Regions from separate parts of the Homo sapiens genome. Here region 1 is linked to region 2. The links are contacts of gene promoters, found by promoter capture Hi-C in human tissues and cell types (Jung and others, 2019). All regions are on one chromosome and are shown on one strand. Each heading gives the region's core, a stretch centred on a gene start or on the middle of the fragment in contact. The rest is flanking DNA. Distances are from core to core; before and after follow the strand shown. Region 1 has its middle 26 kb from the start of VSX1. Region 2 holds the start of ENTPD6 (ectonucleoside triphosphate diphosphohydrolase 6).

Region 1 (2,700 bases), core at 41-2,540, 87 kb before region 2:
TGCAAAAACATGCCAAATTGTAAAGACCATTGATGCTAGGAAGAAACTGCATCAACTAATGAGCAAAATTACCAGCTAACATCACAGTCACAGGATCAAATTCACACATAACAATACTGACCTTAAATGTAAATGGGCTAAATGCCCCAATTAAAAGACACAGACTAGCAAATTGGATAAAGAGTTAAGAACAATCAGTGTGCTGTAGTCAGGAGACCCATCTCACATGCAGAGACACACATGGGCTCAAAATAAAGGGATGGAGGAAGATATACCAAGCAAATGGAATACAAAAAAAAAAAGCAGGGGTTGCAATCCTAGTCTCTGATAAAACAGACTTTAAACCAACAAATATCAGAAAAGACAAAGAAGGTCATTACATAGTGGTAAAGGGATCAATTCAATAAGAAGAGCTAACTATCATAAATATATATGCACCCAATACAGGAGCACCCAGATTCATAAAGCAAGTCCTAAGAGACCTACAAAGAGACTTAGACTCCCGCACCATAATAATGGGAGACTTTAACACCCCACTATCAACATTAGACAGATCAATGAGACAGAAAGGTAACAAGGATATCCAGGAATTGAACTCAGCTCTGCACCAAGCAGACCTAACAGACATCTACAGAACTCTCCACCCCAAATCAATGGAATATACATTTTTCTCAGCACCACATTGCACTTATTCCAAAATTAACCATGTAGTTGGAAGTAAAGCACTCCTCAGCAAATGTAAAAGAACAGAAATTATAACAAACTGTCTCTCAGACCACAGTGCAATCAAACTAGAACTCAGGATTAAGAAACTCACTCAAAACCACACAACCACATGGAAACTGAACAACCTGCTCCTGAATGACTACTGGGTAAATAAAGAAATGAAGGCAGAAATGAAGATGTTCTTTGAAACCAATGAGAACAAAGACACAACATACCAGAATCTCTGGGACACATTTAAAGCAGTGTGTAGAGGGAAATTTACAGCACTAAATGCCCACAAGAGAAAGCAGGAAAGATCTAAAATTGACACCCTAACATCACAATTAAAAGAACTAGAGAAGCAAGAGCAAACACATTCAAAAGCTAGCAGAAGGCAAGAAATAACTAAGATCAGAGCAGAACTGAAGGAGACAGAGACACAAAAAAACCCTTAAAAAATCAATGAATCCAGGAGCTGGTTTTTTGAAAAGATCAACAAAACTGATAGACCACTAGCAAGACTAATAAAGAAGAGAAGAGAGCAGAATCAAATAGACACAATAAAAAATGATAATGGAGATATGACCACTGATCCCACAGAAATACAAACTATCATCAGAGAATACTATAAACACCTCTACGCAAATAAACTAGAAAATCTAGGAGAAATGGATAAATTCCTGGACACATACACCCTCCCAAAACTAAACCAGGAAGAAGTTGAATCCCTGAAGAGACCAATAACAGGCTCTGAAATTGAGGCAATAATTAATAGCCTACCAACCAGAAAAAGTCCAGGACCAGACGGATTCACAGCTGAATTCTACCAGAGATACAAAGAGGAGCTGCTACCATTCCTTCTGAAACTATTCCAATCAATAGAAAAAGAGGGAATCCTCCCTAACTCATTTTATGAAGCCAGGATCATCCTGATACCAAAGCCTGGCAGAGACACAACGAAAAAGAGAATTTTACACCAATATCCCTGATGAACACCGAAGCAAAAATCCTCCACAAAATACTGGCAAACCGAATCCAGTAGCACATCAAAGAGCTTATCCACCACGATCAAGTCCATTTCATCCCTGGGATGCAAGGCTGCTTCAACATACACAAATCAATAAAATTAATCCATCATATGAACAGAACCAAAGACAAAAACCATATGATTATCTCAATAGATGCAGAAAAGGCCTTCAAAAAAATTCAAGAGCCCTTCATGCTAAACACTCTCAATAAATTTGGTAGTGATTGGACATATCTCAAAATAATAAGAGCTATTTATGACAAACCCACAGCCAATATCATACTGAATGGGCAAAAACTGGAAGCATTCCCTTTGAAAATGGCACAAGACAGGGATGCTCTCTCTCACCACTCCTATTCAACATAGTGTTGGAAGTTCTGGCCAGGGCAATCAAGAAGGAGAAAGAAATAAAGGATATTCAATTAGGAAAAGAGGAAGTCAAATTGTCCCTGTTCGCAGATGACATGATTGAATATCTAGAAAACCCCATCGCCTCAGCCCAAAATCTCCTTAAGTTGATAAGCAACATCAGCAAAGTCTCAGGATACAAAATCAATGTGCAAAAATCACAAGCATTCTTATACACCAATAAACAGACAAACAGAGAGCCAAATCATGAGCGAACTCCCATTCACAATTGCTACAAAGATAATAAAATACCTAGGAATCCAACTTACAAGGGATGTGAAGGACCTCTTCAAGGAGAACTACAAACCACTGCTCAATGAAATAAAAGAGGACACAAACAAACAGAAAAACATTTCATGCTCATGGATAGGAAGAATCAATATCGTGAAAATGACCATACTGCCCAAGGTAATTTATAGATTCAATGCTATCCCCATCAAGCTACCAATGACTTTCTTCACAGAATTGGAAAAAAGCTACTTTAAAGTTCATATGGAACCAAAGAAGAGCCCGCATTGACAAGACAATCCTAAGCCAAAAGAACAAAGCTGGAGGCATCA
Region 2 (2,700 bases), core at 197-2,696:
TTTGGCTAATATATTATTTTAAAGGACATATCCCACCATAGCCAATTCCACCTCTAAGAATATTTCTGACAGATATACCCACATGCATGCACAAAGACAATCCACGGGATCCAGTCACATTATTCCTAACCCAAAGCAACTGGGAAACACTTCAAGGTCCATCAGTGAAGGCCCGCATAGGCTAACCTCTGTAATAACCAAATCTCAGTGGCAGTGTCCAACCAGGTGCTTGTGGGCGACCTTCCAACAGGCACCGCATTGCCCGGCTGCCAGGCCGGGCCTGTGTACTGTCCCCGCATCCCATACAGCTAGCACTTATTCACCCTCAAAAGCGTCCCATCCTGAAAATAAACTCTTGCCCACTTGGTGCTTCAGGAACCTGGGCTTCTTCCACTAATAGCTCTCCCAGATGCCCCAGTGCGCAGGTGGGGCCGTCCTCTAGGACCAGGCCTGGCTGGGGCGCACCCACACCTCCTTGGCCAGACGCCATGGGCCGGGAAGGGGCTCTGGCCCTTGCGGGAATGAGGGCGCCTAGCATAGGTGTGCAAGTGGGCAGCCCCCACCGTGGGGTCCTTAAGTAAGCTGGAGCCTGTGAGCCAGGACAGTCAGGAGTTGCAACCTTGGTGATTTCTAGGAAGACAGAAAATGGGGTCAAGGGCCGGGTGTGGTGGCTTATGCCTATAGACCCAGCACTTTGGGAGGCCGAGGCAGGCGGATCACCTTAGGTCAGGAGTTCGAGACCAGCCTGACCAACAGGGCGAAACCTCGTCACTACTAAAGGTACAAAAATTAGCCAGGCGTGGTGGCGCACACCTGTAATCCCAGCTACTCAGGAAGCTGAGGCAACAGAATCGCTTGAACCCGGGAGGCAGAGGTTGCAGTGAGCTGAGACCACATCACTGCACTCCAGCCTGGGTGAGAACCTGTTAAAAAAAAAAATAAGAAAATGGGGTCAAGAAACGGTGGGAGGAGGGCAGATTTCATGAACCTGCCTGCTATGATGTGGCTGCATTTCCATCATGCATTGTCCTAAAAAAAGAAAAAGAAAAAAATAAAATGTAGACGTGGAGGGATGGGGGAAATTGCACAGGCCGGTCCAGGCTGTGAGGCTGCCCCCTACCAGGGACGACGAGGGCCAGCTCCGCCGCGCCGTAAGGAAACTGGCCAAGGGAACCCCTTGAATCTGGCGAGGGCCCGCCATGAGACGCTCGGGGAACCAGACTGCCGAGCCCCCCTCTCTGGGCCGACGCCAGCCCGGCTGTGGACTGGAGAAAACCGCAAGGCCACCTGCAGAAAGAAAAGAAGGCCATCGCGCCTACGCAGCTGAGCACCCATACTCCGCCCGCGCCTGCGCAACTGGGTCCCCCGACCCCCACCTCCTCTCCCGCCTGCGCATGCGCGGCTGGGTGCGCCCCCCCGCCCAGCCTGTGACGCCACGTGCATGGGGCGGAGCCCAGGCCCTAGGGAATCGTGGGGTCGTATCCCGCGGGTGGAGGCCGGGGTGGCGCCGGCCGGGGCGGGGGAGCCCAAAAGACCGGCTGCCGCCTGCTCCCCGGAAAAGGGCACTCGTCTCCGTGGGTGTGGCGGAGCGCGCGGTGCATGGTAAGCGGCGGGCCGGGGCGCTGGCGGGGGCGGCCGGGGATCACCGACTGTAGGCGGGCCTCCCCCACGCGGGCGCGCTGCGCTCCGGAGGACGGCCTCGGGGTCACTCGCACCCCGGGTCCCACCTCCTGCTGCCTTCCTGTCCAGGCTCCATTAGGGCTCCCTGGATGTCTGGGCTCCGCTGACCGGTGGGGGGCAAGTCCAGTGTTTTGGGCCACAGGGCGGGCCAAATAGCAGGGGCCTGTAGCCCCAGGGGGCCCCAGCCCTGCTGCGTTCATTCATTCAGCCCGCTTTTGCGGACCCGCCCCCAGTCTGCGTCAGGGACAGACCCCTCCGCCCTGGATGAGCCCGGCGGGGAAGCTTCGCGTAGCAGTTTCTGGGAAACAGGTAGGATCAGGCCGCTCGGACAGGACTGAGGGTGTAAGGACGATTCACCCTGGCATTGGGGTGGTGTCCCGAGGAGCTCATAGGTGGTCAGGGCGGTTCTGCCCGAGCTGACCTGTGAGCCGCGAATGCCCTGGACCGAGGGAGGGAGAGCCCCCTAGGTGGACAGACTAGACTCCTTCAGTGGAAAACATTCAACAGCCAGGAGAGCGTGGAAGAGGAAGGAGAGATGGGAGGGCCCAGGGGAGCGTGGAAGGGAGGGTGTTTTTATTATAAGTGCACCTGTAAGTGCAAAGTGCAAAGGAAGCAGCCGCCGGGAAGTGCCTGGGCAGCTCTGGGTGTCCCTCCAGGCACCTGTATTCCAGCCTTACCTGCGCGAAGCCACACATCCCACGTCACACAGGATACGGGGAAGTCAGCCATAGCCTGCAGGCGGGGAATCTGAAACCTCGCGCAGGAGTTCCTTGGGAGAGGTGGATTACAAGGACTCTTCCTCCCACCCGCTGTGCAAGAGCCATGGGCGGCCGGTAGTCATTTTTGAAGGACCTGGCAAGCACTGTACAAATCTCAAAATTGCTTTTTGTCCCCCTCCCCTTGCCTTGGAGAGAGTGGCTGGCTAGTGTGTGTGTCGTCTGCCTCCTGAAGGTTCGGGTAAAGGACCAGGGAGGTGGGCAGCCCTTTGTGTCAGGAGATCTGGAAGCGCCTCCCCTCCCA

What was found. The method cuts DNA at HindIII sites, captures the fragments that hold promoters and counts their contacts. A contact is called where the count stands out against the background at its distance.
Region 1: a fragment that was not itself captured here is called in contact with the fragment with the promoter of ENTPD6 in region 2 in 2 of the 25 tissues and cell types used here (H1 embryonic stem cells and aorta).

The regions. Positions count from the first base shown.
Region 1 is chr20:25,107,277-25,109,976 of GRCh38, forward strand. No RefSeq gene overlaps it. Among named protein-coding and RNA genes, the nearest start is that of VSX1, 26 kb to the left of the region's middle. The HindIII fragment of the contact is 9,109 bases long and covers 1-2,700 here.
Region 2 is chr20:25,194,266-25,196,965 of GRCh38, forward strand. ENTPD6 (ectonucleoside triphosphate diphosphohydrolase 6) reads left to right here and starts at 1,447. Exons shown (of 15, transcript NM_001247.5): 1 at 1,447-1,602. LOC101926889 (a long non-coding RNA gene) reads right to left here and starts at 2,627. Exons shown (of 6, transcript NR_109994.1): 1 at 2,358-2,627. RefSeq lists enhancers at 903-1,142, 1,993-2,062, 2,443-2,592 and a silencer at 1,283-1,702. The HindIII fragment of the contact is 8,888 bases long and covers 1-2,700 here.